4 separate regions of the Homo sapiens genome follow, and all the other regions are linked to region 1. The links are contacts of gene promoters, found by promoter capture Hi-C in human tissues and cell types (Jung and others, 2019). All regions are on one chromosome and are shown on one strand. Each heading gives the region's core, a stretch centred on a gene start or on the middle of the fragment in contact. The rest is flanking DNA. Distances are from core to core; before and after follow the strand shown. Region 1 holds the start of GNG10 (G protein subunit gamma 10). Region 2 holds the start of KIAA1958. Region 3 has its middle 12 kb from the start of HSDL2. Region 4 overlaps HSDL2 (hydroxysteroid dehydrogenase like 2).

Region 1 (3,565 bases), core at 585-3,084:
AGGCTCAGCCTCTTTCTGGCCAGACCTTCACACGCCTTGCCCTCCGGCCCCACCTCCACCTTTCTGGCATACCTCCCCTGCTAACTTACTCCTCTTTCAACTACCGTTCACCTTCAGCACTCACATTCCAGGATGGTAAAGATTGCTGCAGGAAAAAAAAAAAATCACAAATATGACCAGCAGTCTCCCTTGTCACAGCAGCTGGGTCTTCAGTCACAGCGCATCTGCGTGCCTGCTCAGGGGCCACTCCCTTAGTCCCCTTTCCTCTGCCTTAGAAGAAAACCTGGCCTCCTATTTCACAAAGAAAAGTGTCACCATACAAGTTTAGCCCATATCTAGAAACTTATCTTTACACACACCCTTACCTTCTTTCTTCCTGTCTCAGAAGCTGTGCCACCAATCCCCCACCCCCCCGTAGCCCTGTCTCCTCTACCAGCAATTGGCTTCCATTTGTTTCTTCCCTGGAACCTAAAAATATAATTTGTTACTTCCTCTCAACCCTAAAACATGGCTTTTCATTTCCTAAGTTAAAAAAACACGTTATTTCCTCTTTAAAACTAGGTTTCTTTAAAAAGAAAAAACGTCTGCCTACCCTATGACAGTCCAGATTCTGCTTTTACTAACACATAAGCCACCAGACCTCTGCATTCCACAGCCCTCTCTCCCTTTACCCTGTTTATTATCTTCACTCCACTTAGTACATGAAGCGATGCTATGTATCCGTTAAGTTGCTGTTTACCTTCCCCTCCAGAACCACCCTATTCCCTGTAGCAGTGCCAGGCACACAGCAAAGGAGAAACTGAGGCACAGGGACTATCCTGGTTGTGTTCCTTCTTACAGATCTTCTGCAAATAATGCTGCACTCGTAGCTAAACACAGCTCTACAACAGACGCCTTTTAGCCAACTGACTAAACGCTGGACATGTTGACTGAGCCCCCAGTTTTTGGAAATCCCTACTTCCTTGCTCGGAAACCTTGCTGTCTCTTATTTCCTCTTCTCTAGGCCTTGCTCGGAAACCTTGCTGTCTCTTATTTCCTCTTCTCTCGGCCACCGGCCATCGGTGTGGCTGGTCCCCGGGTCCCAGGCTCTGAGCTCTGCTCTTCATAGAAGAGGCTTTTTCGCCCCAATGCACTTGAATGACCTCTTTCAGCCCTGGGCGCTGAGCTTCAGGCCATGAGGACAAATACCTCCCGGATGACTCCCCGGAGTCCCCAGGTCCGCAGCCGAACTCATCATTTCCCCAAACCTGTTCCCCCTCCTCTCTACCTCGGCGGGTGGCAGCGCCGTCCACCCTGTCACGACGACAGAAACCCGAGCATCCTGGCTCTCCTCCCTCTCGCTCTCATCCTACCAATCCATCACCAATTCGCCGCCCTGCGGTGGCCTCCCCAGCCCTGGGTCCACCCTCCCGGCCCGCGCGTCGCCGGCATCCCTTGCGCCCTCCGAGGAACTGACCACGGCCGCCTTCTGGAGTGGGCGCACCCCCAGGGACCGGGACCGACCACGACCGCGGGGCCCCCCAGGCGCGGCTTCCTCCCGTCAGGCCCGGGCCCCCGGCTTGCCCCGCGCCCTCCCTCACCGCGGACCCCACCGCCCCCGCGCCCCGCCGAGGCCTCGCCGCCGCCACCGAGTCCCCCGCTGGCGCCCGGTCCGGGCCGCCGGCCTCCTCTTCTCACGCCCCGCGGGCGGAAGGACCGGAGCGTGGGTACCCGGGGCCCGCACCTTGATCCTCTCCACGCCAGCCTCCAACTTGAGCTGCTCTACCAAGCGCTGCAGGGCGCTCGCGCTAGCCCCGGAGGACATGGCGGCGGCGCTGGGCTCCTAGGGGCTGCTGGGCCCGGCCGGGCGGGGAGGAGCCGCCAGCCCCGAGCGCGGGTGCCGCCCCGGGGCGGGGAAGCAGCTGCGCCCGCCCCGCCGCCCCAGCCCACCCGGCGCGGAGCCGCTTGCCAGAGACAGCGGGGACCCCAGCGAGCTGGCAGTGCTCTCCGCTCCTCAGCGCCTGAAACCTGGGTGGCACCTGCAGCTGGGCCTGGAACCGAGGCGGGGACCCGCAGAGCGCGGCGTCCTCCAGCGAAGCTGGCGCCCCTAGGATGAGCAGGAATCGCGAGGGCGTGGGACGCGAGGATGGAGTGGGCGGCAGCAAACACGCACCCCTGAGAAATGAGAACTGGAGCCAAGGTGTGACATGAGTTGGAGAGATAAGGGGCCTTGCCAGACAGTATCACCGGGGAACCAAGGAGAGTTCATAGGATTTTCATGAGGCAGCAACAGGTTTCTAAATGACCCTGTTACTGTTTCACGGAGATCCTACCAGTTGATTTGGTGGAGTATGGTAAATTGGATAAAATCCCAGACCCTGACATCTTTGTGAAACATACAGAATAAAATTAAATTCAGCGTTTCTCACTCTCATCTCACCATTTAACTGTCATCATTGTTTCTATTCTGCTGCTTTTTTTTTTTTTTTTTTTTTTTTTGAGACAGGGTCTTGCTCTGTCACCCGGGGTGGAGTGCAGTGGCGTGATCACAGCTCCTTGTAGCCTCCACCTCGTGGGCTCAGGTGATCCTCCTGCCTCAGCCTCCTGAGTAGCTGGGACTACAGACACACACCACCACGCCCGGCTAATTTTTGTATTTTTAGTAGAGACGGGGTTTCACGATGTTGGCCAGGCTGGTGTTGAACTCCTGGGCTCAGGTGATCCTCCCACCTCAGCCTCCCAAAGTGCTGGCATTATAGGCCTACTGCATTTTTTAATAAGTGTTTTACAAAACTGGGATCGTTACTATATTTAAAATTTTTGTGTTGCTTTTTTCCATGTATCATTAATACGTCATTATTCTTGTACACCATTGTATTTGTCAGAACTCACTTAAACTGAATATTGCAAAAGGTAATATATTGGCTTGTGTAACTGAAAAGTCCAGGGACTTTAAACTAGTGAATTCAATTACCCAAATAATAATTTTGGGGCTCTCATCCTCCTTGTTTTGATTCTGCTTTTCCTGAGATTAGCCTCATTTTCCTTGGTGGTAGATGGACTTCTCTAGTGGTATGAAGGAAGGCACCACACTTTCACTGTCCCCATCTAGCAAACCCAGGAAAAATAGTACCTCTTTTCTTTCTAATCGTTCCAGCAAAAATCCCCATAATGAACCTCACTGGCTGGTATTAAGTCATGGGCCCACCCCTGGCCCAATTACTCTTTGAAGGCAAGGATGTGTGGCATTGACGTGCTCAGATTAGCTGTGCCTGGGCCAAAGGGAGACTTGCACATTTGAAAGCCCTCTCTAGTGGCCAATTTCCTCACCACAAAGAAATTAATATATATCTTAGTAAAGAGATGAAAGTACATGTTGGGAACATTCAACAATCAATTCTGAGACTGATGAATAGGACAAAATAGAATGATTTCATATTTAAAAGATATGGCAAAGAACTCAGTGCAAAGATATACATACTGGATTAGGAAAGGCTCATCATAGATCGTGAGAGCTGGACTTTGGAGATACGTGTCTTGCAGATGGCTCAGAAGGAAGAACAGTCCAGTATGGAGGACAGCTGGA
Region 2 (3,122 bases), core at 1-2,500, 830 kb before region 1:
ACCTGACTGGCTTGTTAGCTGTTTATTTCGTCGGGAGAGGATTCCGTCTTGCGAATCCTAACGAGTTCGGGAAAAAACAAAACTTTACTCCTAAACTTCAAAACACACACACACACACACACACACACACGCACACACACTAAATACATATAATTGTAAAAATCACAGCCACGTTCATTTTTTTTAAAGTCCCAATCTAAAACCTTAAAGAAAAAAAAAGACTTGAAGGAACCAAAAACATTCTTTGATTTTGGTTTGACGTTGTTCAGTCCAACCTCCTCCTACCCAGGGGAATACATTTCTCGATATATTTGATAACAAACACAAATCACTGTGCGCAGCCTCAGATGGGGGTGGGGGGGCGGAAGAGCCTTTTGGAGAAAGCCCTCCTCCGTTAGAAACAATAAATAAGGGAGCGAAGCCATGCACGTTCCTTCACACACGCCCCAAACGCACCTCGGCGAGCCACCCGAGGAGGAAAACTAGTGGGGCAGAGCCCTGAACCACCTCTCTTTCTCCATAAGCATCTCAAGACTTGGAAACTAAGAGGACAGACCTTTTCCTCCTCCTTCCCGCCCTCCTTCCCACCTCCGACAGACCCAAGAGCAGGAGCGGGGGCGCCAGCCCCACGCACTGCGCCTGCAGCCGCCGCTGAGACCCGAGCTGCCGGGCGGCGGGGCGGCCCGGGGCAGGCGGACCGGAGCCGCCACCGGGGGTCTCTGCGCCTCGCACCCCCAAGCCCGGCGCTGCCGACGAGCGGCCGCCCGGGTCCCTGCCCTCGCTCCGGCCTCGCTCCCCCGAGAGGAGACAAAAGGAAGGTTCAGCCGGGTCACCGCGCGGCCGCTGACGGGGAAGCAGAGTCGACCCCGGCGCGGCCGCCCCCCACACAAAGGGGCTCCCCGCCTGGGTCGCGGCGTCGGCGCACTCGTCCCCGCCCCGCGCGCGGGCTCTCACCCACCTGCAGGTGTCTGTGCGTCTGTCCATAGGAACGCGGTCGGCGCGGGGGGGCCTGCGAGAGCCGGGCAGCCCGGGCTGGACGGGACGGGCCGAAGGGGCGCGAGGGCGGGAGGAGAGCGGCCAGAGGGCCGGGCACCAAAGGTAAGTGGAGCGGGGAAGGCGCCCGGCGGGCGGCGGACCGAGGAGCGGGGCGGGGGGCGGGGGCGCCAGCCTGGCTCGGCCGACCGCCGCGCGCCGCTCCGTGCGCCCCGAGCTCCGCGCGCCCGGCTCGGAGCGCGGCGGGCGGGCAGGGGGCGGGGCGCGGGCGGGCCGGGGCGGGGCCGGCGAGCGGGGCGGGGGCTCGGACCCCGGGCTCCAGCCGGCACCGGAAACGCGCCGTGGTCGGCGAGACCCACAGGAAGTGTGTAACGACACCTCCTACGGCACGCACCGAGCTCGCAGTCGTTGCTGCCCCGAGGAGGTGTAGATCGAGCCTCCTGCCGCACACACGTTCGCACGCGGCGGCCGGCGCGCTGGACCGAGAGGTTGGAGCAATCCATCCTCCGCGCGCACGAGCTCAGTCCCTACTGCCCCGACAGGTGTGGAACCCGCCGTCCCCGCTATGGTCCGAGGAAGTGTACAGCACTGCTCCCTACTACACGTCCTGGGCCCGCGGTCCCCGATGCCCCCCGGAGCTCTGTGCACCTCCACTGAAACGCAAGGAGCAGACAGAACCTACACCATCCGTGAGGTGTGTGATTTCCCTTATAACGCATTGAGTAGAGTTACCTCTCCGCCCAGGGATGTGCATTAACACTTTCTACCGAGATACTACGTACAGCCCATAGTCACCGCTGCCCCGTGAAGGTGCCCAACAACCACCTGTAACACACACACCCCTATCCCATCGAGGGAGCGGGGATGCTTAATGATACCTAAAATACACTAAAACTAGGTCCTCCAGCAAACCAGAGACACAAGAACACCACCTACACGACTCAGCACAGCAAAGATGAAGCTGGACTTGCTAGGTGCTACCAGGCTTGGTCCACCTTTATTTTACCTAACACTTTCGTAGTACTTGCTGTGTGCCCACAGTTTGCACTGAGTACTTAGCGAATATTAATTTATTTAATCCTAAGAACTCTACATAGTGGGTGCTATTAACATTGCCATTTTATGATAAGGAAACTGAGGCACAGAGAAATTAAGAAATTTTTTCAACATCACATAGATAGTAGCTAGAGGAGCCTGGATTCATTCCGGACAGTCTGGCTTCAGAGTCTGCTCTTAACTCCCTTTCTATTTACAGCACTGACCATCTCCAAAACAGTAATCATGGTAATAAATAACATTTACACCATATCTGTCAGGCCTTACGTAGTGCCCACATCTTGGCCTCACCTCATCTGTGACAGGCATACCCCAGTCACTTGTACCCTTGGAGTAGGTAAGGGAAGAGAAGAATATTTTTGAGGGAGAGAAAGAAGCTAACTTCTTAGCAAAGGAGAAAATATCCAGGGTCGTCCAGAATCCAAGCAGGTAACTTCATTACCACATCAAGCATGTTCTCTTTTAGGTAGCTTCTGCCAACCCCTCTCCATCTCTAGAGCTGATTCCGGTTGATGTTCTTAACACCTTCCTCTATCAACACTCTTCCAGGTCTAGGCTGAAATTTAAAATCTGTGTAAATGTTGACACAATAATGTTTGTACAAACAAAAAAGACCAAAAATGAAAACCCCCTAGTTAATTGCTGCATATTCTAAAGATGGGATCTTGTGGAGAAATTGGAACTCTTATGCAATGCTGATAGGAATGTAGATGGTACCACCACTATGCAAAACAGTGGGGAAGTTCCTCAAAAAACTAAAACTAGAGCTACCATATGATCCAGCAATCCCACTTCTGGGTAAATATCCAAAAGAATTGAAAGCAGGATATCGAAGAGATATTTGCACATTCATGTTCATTGCAGCACTATTCACAATAGCCAAGAGGTTGAAGCAGCCCAAATGTTCATCAACAGATGAAGAGATGAATGAAAATGTGATATATACATATAATGGAATATTATTCAGCCTTAAAAAGGAAGGAAATCTTATCACAGGCTACAACATAGATGAACCTTGAGGATGTTGTGCCAAGTGCAATAAACCAGTCACAAAAGGACAAATACTGTTATGA
Region 3 (3,503 bases), core at 825-3,324, 710 kb before region 1:
CATCAGATCTCATGAGATTTATTCACTATCATGAGAAAAGCATGGGAAAACTGGCCCCTATGATTCAGTTACCTTCACTGGGTCCCTCCCATAATACCATAACACGTGGGTATTATGGGAGCTACAATTTGAGATGAGATTTGGGTGGGGACACAGCCAAACCATATCATTCTGTCCCTGGCCTCTCCCAAATCTCCTGTCCTCGCATTTCAAAACACAATCATGCCTTCCCAACAGTCCCCCAGAGTCTTAACTCATTTCAGCATTAATTCAAAAGTTCATAGTCTGAAGTCTCATCTGAGACAAGGCAAGCCTCTTCCACCTATGAACCTGTAAAATCAAAAGCAAGTTAGTTACTTCCTAGATACAATGTGAGTACAGGCATTCAGTAAATACACCCATTCCAAATGGGAGAAATTGGTCAAAATCAAGGAGCTAAAGGCCCCATGCAAGTCCAAAATCCAGAGGGATAGTCAAATCTTAAAGCTGCAAAATAATCTCCTTTGACTCCGTGTCTCACATCCAGGTCACAGTGATGCAAGTGGTGAGTTCTCATGGTCTTGGGCAGCTCCACCTCCATGGCTTTGCAGGGTACAGACGCCCTCCCAGCTGCTTTCACAGGCTGATGTTGAGTGTCTGTGACTTTTCCAGGTACATGGTGCAAGCTGTCAGTGGGTCTGTCATTCTAGGACCTGGAGGATGGTGGCCCTCTTCTCACAGCTCCACTAAGCAGTATCCCAGTGGGGACTCTGTGTAGGGGTTTCCACCCCAAATTTCCCTTCCACACTGCCCTAGCAGAGGTTCTCCATGAGGGCTCTGCCCCTGCAGCACACCTCTGCTTGGACATCCAGGTGTTTCTATACATCCTGTGAAATCTAGGTGGAGGTTCCCAATCCTTAATTCCTCACCTCTTTGCATCTGCAGGCACAAGACCTCGTGTAAGCCATCAAGGCTTGGGGATTGGACCCTCTGAAGCAATGGCCTGAGCTGTACATTGGCCCCTTTTAGCCATGGCTGGGGCACAGGGCACCAAGCAGCAAGGCCCTGGCCCTGGCCCATGAAACCATTTCTTTCTCCTAGGTCTCCCAGCTTGTGATGGGAGGGACTGCCGTGAAGACCTCTGACATGCCCTGGAGACATTTTCCCCCGTTGTCTTGATAATTGACATTTGGCTCCTCGTTACTTATGCAAATTGGCTAAGTTCACAGAGGTATTTCATCTCCCCTGGCCCAAAGCACTCCCACTAGTGCTGCATACACTCCAATCCATCCCTTTGGGAAAACATCAATTGTCCCCTTATGAAATTATAATGGGAAGGCCCATGTGTATGGGAATGAAAATAACCAATCCAACTTTTCTCAAGGGAGTTATATTGTAATATTGTGAGGGAATCATTTATCACCTTAAAAAAAAAAAGCCAAGATTTGATAAAGAATTCCTTTCACAGTGTGCTCCCTGAAGATAAGGTACCTGGGCTGGGCACGGTGGCTCACACCTGTAATCCCAGCACTTTGGGAGGCCAAGGTGGGTGGATAACTTGAGGTCAGGAGTTCGAGACCAACCTGGCCAACATGGCGAAACCCTGTCTCTACTAAAAATACAAAAATTAGCTGGGTGTGGTGGCGCACGCCTGTAATCCCAGCTACTCAGGAGGCCGAGGCACAAGAATCGCTTAAACCTGGGAGACAAAGGTTGCAGTGAGCCGAGGTTGCACCATTGTACTCCAGCCTGGGCAACAGAATGACGCTCTGTCTCAAAAAATAAAAAATACAAATACAAAAATTAGCCAGGCATGGTGGTGCATGCCTGTAGTCCCAGCTACTAGAGAGGCTGAGGTGGGAGGATTGCTTGAATCCAGGAGGCAGAGTTTGCAGTGAACCAAGATTGTGCCACTGCACTCCAGCCTGGGTGACAGAGTGAGACTTCGTCTCAACAACAACAATGAAAAGAACAAAAAGAAAAAAAAACTGAAGAAAGCCTACAGGAATCATGGGATATCATCAAACAAACTAATATATACATTATGGGAGTTCCAGAAGGAACAGTGAAAGAGAAGGGGGCAGAAAACTTATTTAAAGAAACAATGACAGAAAACTCCCCAAATTGGGAAGGGAAATGAACATCCAAATCCATGAAACCCAAAGAATCCCAAATAGATTAAATATAAAGAGATCTTCACTGAGGCCCATTATAATCAAATCATCAAAGTCAAAGATAGAAAGAATTTTGAAAGCAGCAAGAGAAAAGGAACTCATTACATACAAGGGAACCATCATAAGATTATCATTGCATTTCTCAGTAGAAACCTTGCAGGCCAGGAAACCATGGGAATATATTCAAAATGTTGAAAGATGAAAAAACTTGGCAACTAACAATACTATACCTGACTAAGAATACTATACCTGCCAACTAACAATACTATACTGTTCTGAAGGTCAGTAATGCTGTCCTTCAGAAATAAAGGAGATAAGAACCTAGCCAAAAAACAAAACAAAACAAAAAAACCCAAAACACAAACAAAAAAACCTGTGGGAGTTCATCACCACTACATCTGCTTTACAAGAAATGCTAAAGGGAGTTCTTTGTGTTGAAACAAAAGAATAATAGCTAACAAAATGAAAACATGCAAGTATAACATTCACTGTAAGGGTAAAAATAGTCAAATTCAGAATACTCTAATATAGTAATGGGGGTACATAAATCACTTTTAACTGTAGTCTAAAGTTTTTTTATGTATTAAAATATAGCTATAATAATTTGGTCATGGATAGACAACATACAAATTGTAACATCAATAACATAAAATGTGGGAAGAAAAGTTAAAATGCAAAGTTCTTGTGATGAAAGTTAAGCTAGTGTCAACTTAAAATAGACTGTGATAAGATATTTTATGTTAGGCTCATGGTAACCACAAAGAAAGCAGGGCAGTCAAATCTTAAAGCTCCAAAATGATCACCTTTGACTCCATGTCTCACATCCAGGCCATGCTGATGCAAGAAGTGAGTTCCCACAGTCCTGGGCAGCTCCACCCCTGTGGCTTTACAGGGTATAGCCCCCCTCCTGGCTGCTTTCACAGGCTAGGATTGAGTGTCTGCAGCTTTTCCAGGTGAATGGTGAAAGCTGTCAGTGGATCTATCATTCTGGGGCCTGGAAGACGGTAGCCCTCTTCTCACAGCTCCACTAGGTGGTGCCCCACTAAGGACTGTGTGGAGGCTCTGATTCTACCTTTCCCTTCTGCACTACCCTAGCAGCGGTTCTCCATGAGGGCCCACCCCTGCAGCAAACTTCTGCCTGGGCATCCAAGCATTTCTACGCATCTTTGGAAATCTAGGTGGAGGTTCAGAAACCCCAAATCTTCTGTGAACTTGCAGGCTCACCACCACGTGGAAGCTTCCGAGGATTGGGGTTTGAACCCTCGGAAGCCATGGCCCAAGCTCTATATTGGCCCCTTTCATCCATGGCTGGAGTGGCTGGAAAGCAGGGTGCCAAGTCCCTAGGCTGCA
Region 4 (3,552 bases), core at 246-2,745, 750 kb before region 1:
TTTAGGTTCAGTGGTGGACTGATATTGAGGATATGAGCAACTTTGCTCTTTTTCAAATAAGGAATACATGCTTTAGATCTGAAAGCAAAAGAAAATACAAGCCAAATTTAATAGCTTTCTAACAATTTCTCCACTTTTTTTTTTAAGAGAGGGGGCCTTGCTCTGTTGCCCAGGCTGGAGTGCATGACTCGATCACAGTTCACTAAAGCCTTGAGCTCCTGGGCTCCTGGGCTCAAGCAATCCTCCCACCTCAGTTTTCCGAGTAGCTGGAACTACAGGTGTGCAGCACCACCATGCCCAGCTAATTTCTGTACTTTTTTTTTTTTTTTTAGAGACAGGGTCTAGCTTTGTTGCCCAGGCTGGTCTTGAACCCCTTGGACTCAAGCACTCCTCCTACCTCAGACTCCCGAAGTGCCAGGATTATAGGTTTACAGGTGTGAACCACTGCGACCAGCCAACTTCTTTTTTTTTGTTTGTTTTTTTTTTTAATTTTAAGACAGGGTCTCTCTGTTGCCAGGCTGGAGTGCAGTGGCATGATCACATCTCATTGTAGCCTCTGCCTCCCCAGCTCAAGTGGTCCTCTCACCTCAGCCTCCTGAGTAGCTGGGACTACAGGCATGTGCCAGCATGCCCAGCTACCTGGATAGTTTTTGTAATTTTTTTTTTCTTTTTTTAGAAACAGGGTCTTGCTATGTGGCGCAGGCGTGTCTCAAACTCCTGGACTCAAGCGATCTACCCGCCTCAGCCTCCCAAAGTACTAGGATTACAAGTGTGAGCCATCATGCCGGGCCAATCCACTTTTTTTTTTTTTTTGAGACGGAGTCTGGCTCTGTTGCCCAGGCTGGAGTGAAGTGGCACAATCGCTCACTGCAAGCTCCGCCTCCCGGGTTCATGCCATTCTCCTGCTTCAGTCTCCTGAGTAGCTGGGACTACAAGGCGCCCGCCACCACGTCCGGCTAATGTTTTGTATTTTTAGTAGAGACGGGGTTTCACCGTGTTAGCCAGGATGGTCTCGACTCCTGACCTCGTGATCCACCCACGCTCCGCCAAGATACATTTTAAACTACTCCTACAGAGTAACTGAACTTGCTCAGAAATCTGTAGGGAACTGTTTGTTTGTTTTGTTCATAGGGTACTTTTGTTTGCTTTCTAGAATTAAGACAGAAAAAGCAACTAATTTTCATCCTTTGAAATTCTGCTTAATGGCCTGGCAACATGATCTGCTTGATGGAAAAAAACAAATCCTTGATATACTAGCCTTAAGCCCAACTGAGGTTATCCGCAACCACAACCATCCCAAATTCTGCCTCCCTAACACACATATGTAATTTTCAGAGATAGTTAATATACTTGTCGGTCAGCACAGTGGTAAATAACATGAGTGTTCAAGTCAGACAGACCAGGGTTCAAATTCTGCTTCTGCCCCTTCATTGTGTGACCCTGGGAAAATTGTATAGCATTCTAATGCTCAGTTCTCTCCTCTGCAAATGTTGGTAAAAGTCACTACCTTCTATGATTGACCAAGAGATTAAAATTAGATGATATATATGAGATACTTAGGACAATGTATATACTAAACATGAAATAAACAATCGCTGTTGTTAGTATTATGTATGCTGATTTATTTCATCTTAATAGGCATAGTACTTCTACTACATTGGAACTGTAATTTAGTAATATAACTCTCATTACATTCCCAAATTTAATTTTCACCAATATAAAATATGCCTTTGGGTGCAATACATAGCTTTATTTTTAAAAAGTCACTCATTAAGGTAGGTAATTTATTTAAGATTCAGATTCAATATTTCTAAAATGTTAATTTTTACATAATGTCAGCAGCTAAATAATATATTATAGCTTAATTTATAGCTTTATTTTAGCTACAAATTTAGCTTTCGTTTACATTCAATGACTTCTAGGACTTCTAGGACTCTGAACTTGTCCATTCTTTTTTTTTTCTTTACCCTGAACCAGGAGCTGTGAATGAACTAGTTCATTCTTCTTTCAAGTCAGTTTTTTAATTACCAAATGTACAATACTGGTGTTAAAAACAGCAACATCTTACCAAGCTTACCAAATATAATCAATACCACTAGAGGGGTTTTGGTAGATACTGTTTTCATTTCCAAAGGTGCTTCACTTTTATGGAGGTGAGGTGAGGTGGGGCAAACAATATTACAGCTGAGTTTCATTAAAACAGTGAAACTGCAACTCGAAGCATCAAGAAGAAACAAACTAAATCTACTCCAGTAAATAAGACCATATTTTACACTCAAAGGAAAGAGCTCATTTCATTTACATTCTAAACATGGGCTTTCCTTTGATCTATGGGACAAGACCTTTCCATCTGCACTTTGCTGGCCTGGACCTCAACATTGCTAATCCTACATCAGGTGCATCTGTCACAGTAGCATGCCCTCTTATATATTATATTGAAAACTCTTAGCACCACACTTAGATACTGATACCTTCAGCCGAATAAAATAGTTACGTTTACTGAAAACCTAACTATGTGCCAGACTCTGTTTTTATTACCTTTCATGAATTATTTTACTTACTTGGGGTTTCAAACTCAAAGACCTGTAAGGCATTTGAGTAAATGAATAAAGTGAGTTGGTGTAAAAACTAGAGGTTCCTCTTCAAAGACTTTCCTCCCTGTCTAATTAGGAATAAATAGTAACTTCTCTTAGAAGCAAAATGTATTCAAAGACCCGTACTAACATTCTTAAATATCTGCTAGCCATGATAAAGAAATCAATGTACTTTAAGTTCTTAGCTCCCACAATTTAGCCTAAATATTTGCCCTGGCATGCATATACTGGTCCAAGCAAGCATTAGGTCATAGCCTGTTCCTCTTCCTTATTTGAAGGTGTTTTTACCGTTCTCAGCATTCCACAAGTTACCTCCTCCTTCCTTTGTTCTCCTCTGCCTTTGCCTCTTTTTAAAAAAAGTTCTAAGTTGCTAGCCAACCGGGACAAATACAGAACGTCAGGTCCCGTTCCAGCCAATGGAAACCGGACACAGCAGTAGGGTGGACGCGTCAGGTTATAAATGACCCTGTCTGCTTTGATCGGTGTACTCTTGTGGCAAAACTGCTGGCAAGTATACCCTTTCTGCAGAAAGTATAAAAACGGCCTTGCTGAGTAAATTAAATTTATGTTCAAGTGCTATTTCTTTATGGCACCAGGGAACAAGCATTTCAAACAGCTGGGAATAAGAAAAATCAACTGTTCAGAGATACAACTGAACCTTACTACTAAGCTTCTAAAAGCATTTAACATGATACAAACAATGTAATACTGGAGAGTATATAATAAATTAAATTGAAAAATACAAATTAAAAAAGAAATGTGTTCTGTGAGTTACCAGGGAAGTAAAAATAAAATAAAATAGAAATATTTCTTTTCTTTTCTTTTTTTTCTTTTTTTTTGAGAGGGAATTTCGCACTTGTTGCTCTCGTTGCACTCTTGGAGTGCAATGGCGTGATCTTGGTTCACCGCAACCTCTGCCTCTTGGGTTCAAGCAACTCTCCTGCCTCAGCCTCCCGAG

Evidence for each region. The method cuts DNA at HindIII sites, captures the fragments that hold promoters and counts their contacts. A contact is called where the count stands out against the background at its distance.
Region 2: the fragment with the promoter of KIAA1958 here is called in contact with the fragment with the promoter of GNG10 in region 1 in 1 of the 25 tissues and cell types used here (stomach).
Region 3: a contact is called between a fragment that was not itself captured here and the fragment with the promoter of GNG10 in region 1, in 1 of the 25 tissues and cell types used here (lymphoblastoid cells).
Region 4: a contact is called between a fragment that was not itself captured here and the fragment with the promoter of GNG10 in region 1, in 1 of the 25 tissues and cell types used here (H1 embryonic stem cells).

Annotation. Positions count from the first base shown.
Region 1 is chr9:111,659,874-111,663,438 of GRCh38, reverse strand. It overlaps GNG10 (G protein subunit gamma 10), which reads right to left and starts at 1,834. Exons shown (of 3, transcript NM_001017998.4): 1 at 1,724-1,834. The coding sequence starts at 1,804. All of the region lies in intron 1 of DNAJC25-GNG10 (DNAJC25-GNG10 readthrough), which reads right to left. RefSeq lists enhancers at 774-823, 1,024-1,123, 2,194-2,253 and silencers at 1,414-1,533, 1,564-2,013. The HindIII fragment of the contact is 18,619 bases long and covers 1-3,565 here.
Region 2 is chr9:112,484,955-112,488,076 of GRCh38, reverse strand. KIAA1958 reads right to left here and starts at 1,250. Exons shown (of 4, transcript NM_133465.4): 1 at 959-1,250. It overlaps HSDL2-AS1 (HSDL2 antisense RNA 1), which reads left to right and starts at 433. Exons shown (of 5, transcript NR_171779.1): 1 at 433-1,098; 2 at 1,536-1,687. RefSeq lists silencers at 652-1,141, 1,222-1,281 and an enhancer at 1,712-1,771. The HindIII fragment of the contact is 14,239 bases long and covers 1-3,122 here.
Region 3 is chr9:112,366,441-112,369,943 of GRCh38, reverse strand. It overlaps a transcript of PTBP3 not described here. Among named protein-coding and RNA genes, the nearest start is that of HSDL2, 12 kb to the left of the region's middle. The HindIII fragment of the contact is 8,217 bases long and covers 1-3,503 here.
Region 4 is chr9:112,413,367-112,416,918 of GRCh38, reverse strand. It overlaps HSDL2 (hydroxysteroid dehydrogenase like 2), which reads right to left. Exons shown (of 11, transcript NM_032303.5): 5 at 1-78. Among named protein-coding and RNA genes, the nearest start is that of HSDL2, 35 kb to the right of the region's middle. The HindIII fragment of the contact is 5,910 bases long and covers 1-3,552 here.